Linked DNA regions of Homo sapiens: region 2 is linked to region 1. The links are contacts of gene promoters, found by promoter capture Hi-C in human tissues and cell types (Jung and others, 2019). All regions are on one chromosome and are shown on one strand. The core of a region is centred on a gene start or on the middle of the fragment in contact, and the rest is flanking DNA. Distances in the headings are between cores, read along the strand shown.

Region 1 (7,004 bases), core at 1,252-3,751:
CTCCTGGACTCAAGTGATCCTCCTGCCTTGGCCTCCCAAAGTGCTGGGATTACAGGTGCAAGCCACTGTGCATGGCCTAAAAATTTTTTTTAATTAAAAAATTAAAATAAATAAGTGAAAAGCAATTTCTATAAAATTATGAATGAAGAAATTCTGGTAAGAATTCTACACTTGGTCAAACTCTAGTAAAAGTAAAAGTTGAATAAAGACATATTCAAGTATGTAATAACTCAAATTTTTACCTTCTGTACCCTTTCTTGGGCTGTTACTAAAACATGTGCCATGGAAAATGAAGCAGTAAACCAAGAAAGAAGGCACAAAACACAGAAATGGGGGTTCTCACACTACAGATTAAGGAGTGTCCCAGGCCGGGCACGGTGGCTCACACCTGTAATCCCAGCACTTTGGGAGGCTGAGGCAGGTGGATCACCTGAGGTTGGGAGTTCTAGACCAGCCTGACCAACATGGAGAAACCCCGTCTCTACTAAAAATACAAAATTAGCTGGACTTGGTGGTGCATGCCTGTAATCCCAGCTACTTGGGAGGCTGAGGCAGGAGAATCACTTGAACCCGGGAGGCAGAGGTTGTAGTGAGCTGAGATCACACCGTTGCACACTAGCCTGGGCAACAGAGAGAGACTCTGTCAAAAAAAAAAAAAAAAAAAAAAAAAGAGTGTCCCAGGATGACACTTGAGAAGCGGATCCATAGAGCAACTCATCTCCACTGAAACAGTAGAACAATGAATTTCTGGAGGAATTGTTTTCAGGGCAAAATTGGAATTGATTGTTTGATCATTTGGAAAATAAACATGATAGTCATTTGATAGATCAGTTGTAGAAAAATATCAGGATGGGGCATAACAAACTAAGTAAATAGATACAAGGTTTTATAAGGAAGAAAACAAGAATAGTACACTATTGGCTGTGTTGTCATTGCTATTGGCATAGTCACTTACTTAGCTCCTAAACTGTGAAAGTGCTGTGTTGGAAGGAGAAGTTGCTTGGCATGAAAGAGCTAAATCCTAATCTGAAGCAACAGGTAGTCAGAGCACAACATCTATTGGCAAATCAAGAGATGGCAGTACAAATTATTTAGAAATAGGGAGGTAAATGACAGAAGAGACAGATAAAAGCAGAATATGGCTGCCTCTAAAAAGGAGAGGAACATGATAGGTATTGCATTATCTTAAAATATTATATTAAAATAGTACCTGCATTGTCTTAAAATATATTATTTCTTTAAAGTGTGTGTTTATATTGTTTTTTAAAAATACAATTTTGAAATTTATTGTTGAAAATGGACACATGGAACAAACCAAACCTTGTTTTATCATGTAATTTTCAGAAAATATGTGATCCATAAAGATTAAAAGAAAGTTGTATTAAGTCTGGCAGCTTTAGTATTAACTTGAAATAAAATATGGCAAGCTTTCCACGTCCTCCTTTATTTCCACAATCCATATGTACGAGCTAGATTCCAGTCAGAACTTCCACAAATACTTCACTCTTTGGTAGCAGCGGTTATAAATTACGCCTTTGCTAATTTGCGTTGTTCCCAACCAGGAGAAACATTACCACAAAAAAAGTCAGTTTCATCCTGCAGTGTTCCCGCAGCAACCATATTAAGCTGGAAGAATAAAGCTCCTTTGTAGTAGTAGCGTCTATTGAATTACAATGTAAATGTTGATGCCTGCCTGGAAACGTCAAATGACAACAGGTTTACAGAACGAATTCAGTGGTTGTTTGCAGCTCTGGAATCCCAGGCTGCAGAGTTGAGATCGAAGAGGTGCGTCTGGCCATCTTAGCGTTCATTCAACCAAATCTCCTCACTCCATCAAAACCACGCCACTCCCCACCTGCCCAGCTCGTAAAAGGATGCTCACCTGTTTGAAAATCTGTAATATATCTGATGTCTTTTACACAGCAGGACACGAAAAAGTGTTTGTTGTGGATAAGAGTGTTAAAAATTCAATTACGCAACAGACCAAACTTTGTGCTTCTTTCCCCCTCTCAGCACAAAGTAACTTTAGTCCCGTCCTCTTCTGCCACTGTCAAACAGCCCTGTTACTGTGGGCATTAAATGCCTTGTGGCGTACTGCGCATTTGATTCTGGTTGACTTGGGATACCTGAGCTCGGCTCTCATTAGCTCTTCCGCTCGACCCACAATCCCTAGTGTTTGCAGGTGTTGCATTCCCCCAACCCCTTTCTTCTCTTCAACCAGTAGCCTCCACCTTCCCATCCCTGCTTTGGAGAAGGAGGAAAACGCAGCTTGAGATCTACTCGAAGAACTGACCCTCAGCTCTCACAGGCTGCCGCCGAGCTGCAAGCATGCCGCCGCTCCACTCGGGTAAACTTCGGAGTGAGTTACCTGCACTCGGAGAAGGGCCTTACCTGAGCGCGCCTCTGCCAATGGCAGCTCACCTGAGGGAGCTCCCCAGCCAATCATCGCGCAGCTCGTCCCTCGGGCTTGTACCCTTTAGTGAAAGAATTCAGCTCCTTGCGAGAAAGTTACCTGTGGCCGCCCAAGTCCGCCACTTTCTGCTCTGTGTCTGCCCATTGCCACGATCCAGGAGGACTCCGCGCCGCCCGGCCGCCTCCGAGCTCGGGCCCCATGTGAGGGGCCCCCCCTTATCCCACCTTTCCGGCTAGGTGAGGGCGCGAGCGGGCGAGCGAGCGAGAGTGGTGAGGGGGGACGGAAAAGCAGAATTACCTGTAGCTCTTGTTCTGCCATCTCGGGCGCTCTCACACACCTTCACCTGCACAGACTTGAAAGTCCAGTTTCACCAGAGGCTGAGGCTCCAGGAAAAGCGGAGCAAGTTCATTGGATCAAACATGTCACAAGAGTCGGACAAGTAAGTGGATCACACGCGCCGGCTGCTGCTACTACTACCACTTTGGGCTGATGGCAACTGGTTTGTTATGTTTTTGTTTTTAAGTTGCTATTGTTGGTATTTTTCTTTCTTTTTTCTTTTTCTTTTTGGTGGATCCAGACTTTTCCGCATTATGTTTCTACCCTGATTAAGGGGAGAAACCCTACAACAATGTGAATATTTAATATCCCCTTTGGGCCTTGATAGTAAAAGTGGGTTTTCCTTTTCCTTCTTCCCTTAGGAATGGTCTCAGCTCCCGCTCCTGGATGAATACTTGGATATTGCCAGAGGTTTTGGTAGATGGGCGCGGGAGGCCTGCTCTTCCCTCTCTGTTTTAGCTGCTCCCACCGATCTGGCGTTTAGGGCCATTTGGAAGTTCAGCTGAGTTCCTTCGATTTGTCCAAAGGGCCTACTGGAAAAGTGGGGCTTGGCCGCTTTTGTGTGACCGCAACAAAGAGCTTTTATATGAGGCAGAAACGGCCATCTTCTCGCACCGGGCAGGAGGGTGGGCGTGAGTGCGCGCCCGCGTGTGGCCCCGATGGGAGGCGAGGCGCTGGGAGGCCGGGGGGCGCGGGGGCGGCCGGCGCCGTCCCCCACTCCCTCGACATCCCGCCTTCCTCCCCCCTCCCCCGCCTCCCTCCCCCGGGTCCGCCCCCGCATTGTTTGGCCACCTTCCTCAGGTGCCCGGGGGGAAAGGACGGTTCGCGAACTGGGGGAACTCATGTGAGGCCTCGAGTTAGGGCCTCGGCGGGGCGCGAAGGGGCGCCTGCCACTGAGCGATTCACCCGCGCCCCCGACGGCGTCTGCACGCCCCTCGAGCTCGCGGCCCTCCACGCAGTTGGCCGCCACCTCGGACGCGGCAGGCGGGACTGCGTGGGGCGCGCCGAGCCTTCTCGGGGTGCTCTCGCCGTCAAGGCCGAGGGCTCGGGGCGGCGGGAACGCTGGGCTCGCGTCCTTCCCGTCCCGGACAGGCACTCCAGACGCGTCGGGGAGCCACAGCCTGCGCGGCCGGAGCCGCCCGCGGGTCACTGGGCCCGGTCCGGCCGCGTCCTGACGGCCTCCCCCCTGGCCGGCCCCCGCCCTCGGAAGGCTTTGTGCGAGCCGGGGGAGGTGGGGCCTGGGCGGGCGCGGGAGGGAGCCGGAGGTGGGTCCCGCGGCCTTTCTCGGGATTCGGCGGGGACACTCCCTTCCCCCTCCTCTCGGGCGCGTCCGGGCCTGGGAACTGGCTGCGTCCTATTGGAAGTGCGCGGGGCCGCCCTTTTGCTTTCCCCGGTAACTTTGCCGTGGCGTTGCGGCCACCCCGAGGGGACCTTCCTGAAGGTGTCTCGCCGGAGAGGGCCGGTGCCCCAAGGCCGCGGGCCGCTGGGCCTGTCATGGAGAAGTGGCGGGGACCCGTCCCAAGTTGAGGGACCACGAGGGAGGAGTGGGAAGGCCCTGCGGACCTGTTCAGGGGTGGAGGGGAAGGACTAGCCTCAACATAAAGCCGCTGGCAGGTTAGGCGAACCTAAGAAAATGCGCTGTCATACTTAAAAAGCAAAAAACTGCCAGATAGTTGTACCCCGTTAGCCACCGATGAGGAATTAACCGAGTACAGCATACCGGAGGGGAAGAACTAGCGTTACCAACACGGGAGCGGGTCAGAGGCAGGGTAGGAAGAGGAGAGTGTGTGGTTGTCTGAGAACACCCCCAGCTCCTCCCCATATCTCTCTAGTCTTCAAGGAAACACGACTCGAGTTTGAAATTTTCAGTAGCCAAATCCGGAGGCGACAGCAAGTTTTTGGGGTTTGTTTTGATCTTTGCCTGCGTCAAAGATGATTGCAAATCTAATTTAATTAATCGCGCAATTAACATTTAGTTTGCTTAGTTTTGTGATACAACAGAACTCGAATTCTGAATGAAAACGGGTCGGTCTTTATTTTCACCAGTTATACTTAGCAGCAATAAGAACAATGTGTTTACCATCAGAAATAAGTACTGAGCGCCCGCAATCTGGTTTCACCACACGCATCACCTGGTTTTTACAGGTGATAAGTATCTGGGATTACATATGCTTGCATTTAATGAACGTTGCTTTTATCTAGTCGTGGTTTCCAAGACGAAATTTTGTATCCTGGGAAAAGTAATCGTTACAATGGTGCAAGGAGATAATTCAACTGGTTTGTTTCTCTCTCATTGGGCTGTTGAAAATGCTTTAAGTCAATACATGACTTCTGGATCATTTTTGCGAATTCTAGCCTCGTTTTCTTAATATTCTAAGGGAGCCCCGGCAGGGGTGGGTCTGAAGCTTATGCAACTATGTGTGTGACATGGGGTGGGGACTGTAAGTAAACGGGCCCCTGGGTACAGCGTGGGGCTTCCTTCCTGAGCAAGTGAGAGGCTTCATCAGCCTCATGGAAAATCCACCTTACGAGGCCTGCCTGTAGTTTCTGGAAATAACATGAACGAACACACACTGGATGTTCTTTCATAATCCCATTGAGATTTAGGCAATCTTTGGGATTGCACAGGAAGATATTTCTGGTTAACAAGTCTGGACTGAAGTAGCATCGTCTTTTTTATGGTGTGGACTTTTCAGATTGAAACGTTCTGCTTTTGATGTTCTGCAGTGTTGATGCTATCGCCAATTAAAACAAAGTATTTTTAGGACATTTTGTCTTTGTACATATTTTAAAATTCTCTACTCCATCTTAAATTTTATGAAGATTTAAGATCTTTGTCAGCAAGCATGTGTACAAGTGAAGCAATGCTAGATTAAGAAACTCTTATTTTACTGCCAAAATGTATAAAATATATTTAGAGAACGTGTAGGTACTATGTGATTTGATACTCACAGGTGTTTTTCATTAGGTAAGTGTATTTTCTGGTTACCTACTATTTGTAACACATTCAGATAGGCGTAATAGAGGCATGCGAAGATGGATAAGATGAGCCCTGTTCTCAGGGGGCTTACACTGTAGTGGAAAGCAACTCATGGACAGACATACTTCTAATAAACACAATGCTTAATAGTCACAAAAAATACAACAGTTACAAAAATGTTTTTAAAAATACAATACAGGGGCCAGGCGCGGCGGCTCACACCTGTAATCCCAGCACTTTGGCAGGCCGAGGCAGGTGGATCACGAGGTCAGGAGTTCATGACCAGCCTGATCAACATAGTGAAACCCTGTCTCTACTAAATATACAAAAAATTAGCCAGGTGTGGTGGCAGGTGCCTGTAATCTCAGCTACTTGGGAGGCTGAGGCAGGAGAATCCCTTGAACCTGGGAGGCGGGGGTTGCAGTGAGCTGAGATCACACCACTGCACTCCAGCCTGGGTGACAGTGCGAGACTCCATCTCAAAAAAAAAAAAAAAAAATACAGGTCATGATAAACTGCCTCTCCCTACTCATCGCATTTTTGCTTATGATAATTTCAGTCATTTTGTGTGTTTTTTGTTAAGGAGTCCTGCTATTATTCAGAAAATGGCTGAAGTTATAGGTCTCTCATGTGGATAACATTTCAAGTAATGGGATGACTCTACATTTTAATTAAACTCTCTAGTCTTTAGTTTTATAAATGCATATGCTTGTTTACATTTGGCTATGCAAAATTTCTTTTAAGGTTAGAAACGTCAAGAATTTATCATATCTTTTTCAAACCAATACATATACCCATTCACTTTTTGAAAGAATATGCCTTGAATGCCACTATATACTTGGCATTGAGATTCACTGGTGAATAGAACTTAGTCCCTGCCTGCATGGTGCTTACTGTGTGTGTGTTGGGGGTGGGGGAAAAGGGGCAGGCTTGTTGACACTAAATCAACAAAAAAGTAAACATATATTTAATTAGATGATGATAAGTGCTATGAAGGAAAGCAAAACCAGCTGGAGGGATTGAGAATAATGGGGAGGTCTTTTGTATAGGGTGATCATGGACAGCTTCTCCAATGAGGTGAGCTTTGAGTGGAGGCCTGAGTGAAGTGAGGGATCAAGCCCTAAGATACCTGGGGTAAGAATGTTACAGGCAGGTGGAAGAGCAAGTGCCAGGGCCCTGAGGTGAGAGTGTGGTTAGCATGGTCTAGGACCAGAAAGGAGCTCTGTGTGGGTGAATCAGAGTCAGAGATAACGGCACCATCAAATAAATTAACAT
Region 2 (6,444 bases), core at 841-3,340, 73 kb after region 1:
GGTTGATGAGCAGGGACTGGCTCTCTGCAAAGTTGCAGAGAGCAACTGTTGTATACTAGGACATAGAAGTTGCACTAGCAGCCCTGCCACTCCTGGCACCAGTCATTTCTGAGTGCCTGCTGTATTCTGTGGAATCAGGGAGTGATGAAAGTGACATATGATAAATTCCTTGTCCTTAAGAGGCTGTCATATTTCTTGGGTTCTGGTAGCTTTACAATCAAACTTTCAATGCTCTTGAAATTTAAAAAATGGTCTTAAAATTATCTTTCTTAGCTTCCTGCATCATATTGCTTAAAATAGTTAGCAAACTTATTTTTTTTTTGTTTTTTTTTGTTTTTTTGTTTTTAAACTGAATGAAGGATCTTGTAGAGTCTTTGGTATTGTTGATTATTTGATTTGCTCTTAAGTAGTGAGGGGTGCTTCTGTAGAAGAAAATAACTGAAATTATCACTCCATGATCCCATGTGAGGTACATGTTTTTTCACCAAAAGATTGCCACTGATGTATTTTCTCACACAGTGTAGAAATATTCCATTAGTCACAGAAGAGTGTATGGATGTGGTCCAATGTCAACGGAATCATCATGCTATTTGGGGGATGTGTTATCAGTTATGTTTGTTGTTTGTATTGTAGATAAAGAGGCTTGTGAAAGGAAGCTATTGTATTTTGGGCTTTATTTTGAAGTAGATGAGAAAGTAAAGAAACTTACCAGAAACGAAATATAAAGACTATTCCCACTGATTTTGGTTGAGCTGCTGTCCTTGTCTTGGAAATCAGTGTTTACATGGCATGTTGTATTTCAGCCTGGTGTAAATTAAATTGAATATCCTACTATGATCTTTAGCTATTTCATTGTCAACTAGTTATAAGATTAAGTGATTTCAGAGTAATTTCACCAAGAAAATTTCATTAAGGAAAATTTGTCTAAACTCACTTATTCTAGGCAAACTATTAAAATATCTAGAACCCGGGTTGAATAATCAAATTTATTTTGCCATTTGAGACCAATTCTTCTGTGTGTATGTGCACGTGCATGTGTGCACAGTGGTAGCAGGGAAGGGAGTAGTTTGCTTTAACTCAGGCTGGGATTTTTGAAAAGACAGTGGTAGCATTAAAAAGTGCTTTAGACTGGGAGTGGTGGCTTGTGCCTGTAATCCCAGCACTTTGGGAGGCAGAGGCGGGAGGATCATTTGAGCCCATGAGTTCAAGACTAGCCTGGGCAACATAGTGAGACCCTGTCTCTACAAAAATACAAAATAAAAAAATTAGCTAGGTGTGGTGGCATGCACCTGTAGTCCGAGCTGCTTGGGAGGCTGAGGCGGGAGGATTGCTTCAGTCCAGGAAGTTCAGGCTGCAGGAAGCTATGATCATGCCACTGCACTCCAACTTGGGTGACAGAGCAAGGCCCTGTCTCCAAAAAAAAAAAAAAAAAACCACTTTAATGGATGAATTTTAGCTAATTTGATCTATATTTTATTCCACATCCTCTTTGTAATAACATTTGGCAAATATGTGTTGATTTATACTGGGTATTAGGCACTGTGGTGATGTGGAAGCTTAGGGCAAAATGCATACTGGTTTCTGCCTTCTAGAAGCTTACAATCTGTCTGTATGTGTGAAGGGAAATAATGCTAGATGCCATTTATTGAGTTCTACTCTGTGCCAGGCACCATGGCTTACTCATTTTACTTCTTATCCTTACTGTCATCCTGCAAGGAAGGTGCATTATTTTTTCCATTTTACAGATGAAGAGACAGAGGTTCAGAGAGGTTAAGAAACAAACCAAAGATCATGCCACTAATAAGCAAAGAGTATAGTTGATAAATATACAATGGAGTGGTATTTAAGACCAAAAATATTTTAAGAAACATTTAAAAATTAAAAGATGGAAGGATTTTTATCAAAAATCATATAGATATATAATCATAATAAATCAAAATGGAAGGAAGAATTTGTTTATTCTGTACTACAGTTTTCTATAAGTCAGTTAACAATAGTTTCTGGTTTAGGAACAAAGCAACATCAAGATCTCAGTGATTTAATACAATAAAATATTATTTCTTGCTAATAAAACACTGATGCATGTCTGTACAGTTCTCTTCCAATTAGTGACTCAGGAATCCAGGGTCCCTGCATCTTGTGACATTATCATCTCTATGTGTGGTTTCTAGTGTCTCCCCAGCAGAGGAAGGGAGGCCATGGAGATGGCATACTGACTTGTAAAGTCATACTTTACTGACTTTAGTCATATTGACTAGTTGACCTGGAAGTGGCGCAACTGCACCATCTCACATTTTGTTGGCTAGAACTAGCCACCTGATCAACATAACTGCAAGAGGGCCGAGAAGTTTAATTCTCCCATTAGTCCTCCCATGTGCTCAGGAATTGAGAAGAACTATTTATAAGTGAACATCGGACAGCTCTACTGTGTATTTCATAACTCAACTCCAGGCATGTTATTTGTAGAATTAACATAGTTTGCAGAGCATCTTGAAATGAAAGCAAGTAATGACTATTTGTCATTATCTGGATAGATGTATGATCATTAGTCCATTGATTTTATATTCATCTAGTCTGAAACTGGAAGTGATCCTGGATCTAAACCCTATCCAACTTAATTGATTGACAGCTGGTAGTCCATTATCCTCCACACATTTAAAGGACAAAATCTCAAAAATGTTGATTCATCTACTACATTGGAACATGGCCTCACTTTGGATTAATGCACACAGTTTTATTATGTTTATCTTAAACATATGATGCAGTGGCTATGGTAACACCAAATTTCTGTCACTTTGTTAATGTGTTTTAGCACCAAGTAAAATTTTAGAAATTCTCTGGGATACACATTTTATACCTTAGGAGGATTTAAATCTATATGTAGTCAAAGTTGATAAGACTAGATCACTCATTATTTATATTAACATGGCATTTACTCACCTCATGCACAGAATGTCTATGAATGTCCCAGTTCTGTTAAAGCTGTTATTTAACTTTGCAGCACCATTTGACACTGTTGATCACTCCTCCCTCTTGCAAATGCTCTTGGCTTCATGTCCACAGCTTCAGTTATCATCTGTGTCCAAAAGACCTTCCAATTTTACTCTCCAGCCCGGTCCTCTCTTCTGAACTAATATTTATTATAATGTAATAATATTTATGTTATAACTATAATAATATAAATATAATAATATTATTATATATATTATTATAATTAATATAATTATATTTATTATATCTAACTGCCCGATTGATTTTTTTTACTTATCCCAAGTCTAACTTATGATCCTCCCCCATACAACCTTATCCATGTTTCTCTGGAAACATTGCACTCTGTTAGGAACATTAAGGTTGACTGCCAGTGATGCCAATTTTCCCTTTCTCATAGCAGTGAATTTGATGAGCTCATATAGAACTTTTGCTCTTCTTCAGAATGCCTGCACACAGTTTGTAGTTTTTAAAATATTTGATTAGCGTTTTTTCCTACTTTACCAGAAGCTTCATGAGAGCAGGGACCTATTCTCCTTTTGTTCACCACTGTGTCTGTAGCACTGAGCACAGTGCCTGATATAAAGTAAATGTTCAATAAATATTTATTGAAAGAGTGAATGGGTAAATGATGGGACCTAAAAAATTGTGGCTAATCAAAGACAAGAAATGGTTTAGCAATTTATGATTTCCCTACAGTTAAAGAATCATTGTCTTTTTGAGACATATTCTTACCAGATATCTTGTCTTTGCAACCCAAGAGAAAGAACAGAATTCCAATATTTGAGATTTAAATATGTTTACTATTGCCTAATGTCTAAGGTCCTTTAAGAGTAATCTATCAAGTATATGTTAGCATACCTTCTTTACTATCATTTTTCTGAGTTCAAATTTACAGATGCACTGTATCAAATCACAGTAAACTACAGTGATGTTGGCTGTCTGACTGCCTTTTGGCATCCTACAAATTATATTAATAGGTCTCCGAGCAACTGTGGAAACTTGATAACTGTAGCCAGAATGACCTGAGCATTTTGATTCTAATTCCTAATACTAATTTACTTACAGCCATGTAACCCATCAATGTAATCAGGTCTCATCTAAAGGATGGTGATGTTTTCTAGGTACACTATCCATTTAATTCTTTTAAAATTATAAAGATAATGTAACAGAATTGAAGAAAAAATTTTAAGCTTAATGAAAAGTAATATCTATGTTTGTAACATGGTAACTACAGTAGTCACCACTACTATAACATGGAACTGTGAAAAATGTTTATTTCTTCACAGTTCTTGTCCTCATGCATTCATGCATTGAAGTGGGATTCTGTATTTCAGCCAGAATGTAGTTGAGTCTTTCTGAGTCTGAAGATTTGTAGTATCATACCTTCTCATGCCATCTGGGGGATTAGAACCACAGAATTTACAAGTCCAATATGCTTTAGGAGGTTAGCCTATCCTCAGGCTGCAGAAATCTATGGCATGGATGGTAATTCATTCTTGCCATGTTTACTAATGCTGATTCACCTGGTTTTTATGGATTACTGCATATTCCTTCAAGCAAACACTTTGGAAATGCATCTGTGTCTCCAATAGTTTTTTCATCATATTACCCTCCTACTCCAAAATTTTCTAATTCCTGACCATATTAAATGTAAATACATTTTCCTAAATCAGCCTGTCCAGTAGAGCTTTCTGCAATGATGGAAATTTTTTTTAATACTATCCAATGTTAGTCACTAGCCAATGTGTTAATGTAGTACTTGAAATGTGGCTAGTTGACTGAGGAATCAGATGTTTAAATTTATTTCAGTCTAATCCACTTAAATTTAAATAGCACATGGAGCTAGGGGCTATCATATTGGGCAGCAGGACCTACATTTTCAAGTCCCTGCTAAATAACCAGGCAAGGCCTGTGTCCTTGGCCTCATGTATGCACCACATTTGTACTCATCGTTTTTGTCTTGACTCATGGTGGCCCTCCCTTGCTTGGGTTACTTTCTCTCAGTTCCTTCAGTTAATCCAGGCTGTCTTTGACTTCCAAGGGTCAGAGCGAAGCTCACCAGCTCTATGAAATCCCCCTATAATTTTGCTGATCTTCCTTTCCTGGTAATGCCCAGTCCATGCTTTTCCAGTCAAGACACATGAAAGAATGAATGATTCAACATAGACTTTCATATATAGCCATTTTCTGTATTTTAGTTTTTTTTTTTTAATGTGAATTTATTCCATCCCCTCAACCAATTTTTATCTCTCTGAGGCCAGGGCAGTGTTATATATAATTTTGTGTTTCTTCTGGCACCAAAGCAGATTGTGAAGCCCCAGAAAATTCCCATTGAATGCTTTGCTGATTACCTAATTTATTGCAAAAGAAACACAAATCTGTACCTTTGATTCTCTGTCATGATTATTTATTCAGCCAACAATTATTTGGGCAATGTTCCTGGGATTCATGTGGGTAAAATTTGAAGGGAAGATAATCTTCTTGAATTCAAGAAGTAAGATTGGATAAAAAGAAGGATCATAAATATGTATGGAAACTGTGATATAAGGTATGCTGAGTTCCAGAGATGATGGTTAGGAGTTGTGAGGAAGTTTGGAAAATAGCTGTGGTAACATTTTTCCTTTAGAAGGAAACCCTTGAAATGCTGGTCAAAGAATGTAAGTTTATTGCACAGAAATGAGAGGCAGGAAGGTTATCTCTTAGGAAGAGACACTTGAAAAATGGTCATAGTGAAAAAACAAGATACGTGGTCAATGAAATGCTTTTTCATCAGTATTCTACAATATTCGCTTCCGATCAAGAATTAGGGCTTTTGGTCGTCTACTTTTGAAAAGGTTCTAAGATGCAGCAAAGCACATCCTATATGCACTGTACATACAATTGAACATCTTGAGACCCAAGCTTCTTTGTGTGTAATACTAAACTTAGTTTCCCCAGAAAACCTACTCTTAACAATATTGTGATAATGAAGATCCTTAGAGAAGGGCACTGAATAGGGTCAAATTATTACTTTATAATAGTATTTATACATGTACATAGTGCTCACTATGTACCAGGCTCTATTCTTAGTAACTTCACTTTTTTAAGAAAATAGGGTCTTAATAGGCACTCCAGCCTGTCGCTCAGGCTGATCTGAAGTGACGTGATCGTAGCTCACTGCAGCCTTGAACTCTTGGGCTCAAGCGATGCTTCCGCCTCAACTTTCTGGGTAGCTGGGACTACAGGGATGAGCCACCACACAAAGCTAATTTTATTTTATTTTTAGTCAAGACAGGTCTTGCTTTATTGTCCAGGCTGGTCTGAAACTCCTGGCTTCAAGCAATCCTCCTGCCTTGGCCTCCCAAAGTGCGGGATTACAGGCATGAGCCACCATGCCCAGCCTATTCTTAGTACTTTTTAAAACTTATTTAATTCTTCTAATTATTATAAATAGAAATTTTATAGATGAAGAAA

The links. The method cuts DNA at HindIII sites, captures the fragments that hold promoters and counts their contacts. A contact is called where the count stands out against the background at its distance.
Region 2: a fragment that was not itself captured here is called in contact with the fragment with the promoter of GRHL2 in region 1 in 2 of the 25 tissues and cell types used here (aorta and bladder).

Annotation. Positions count from the first base shown.
Region 1 is chr8:101,489,938-101,496,941 of GRCh38, forward strand. GRHL2 (grainyhead like transcription factor 2) reads left to right here and starts at 2,502. Exons shown (of 16, transcript NM_024915.4): 1 at 2,502-2,852. The coding sequence starts at 2,833. GRHL2-DT (GRHL2 divergent transcript) reads right to left here and starts at 2,768. Exons shown (of 2, transcript NR_186782.1): 1 at 2,513-2,768. RefSeq lists an enhancer at 2,520-3,048. The HindIII fragment of the contact is 12,677 bases long and covers 1-7,004 here.
Region 2 is chr8:101,563,398-101,569,841 of GRCh38, forward strand. All of the region lies in intron 4 of GRHL2 (grainyhead like transcription factor 2), which reads left to right. Among named protein-coding and RNA genes, the nearest start is that of GRHL2-DT, 74 kb to the left of the region's middle. The HindIII fragment of the contact is 3,497 bases long and covers 343-3,839 here.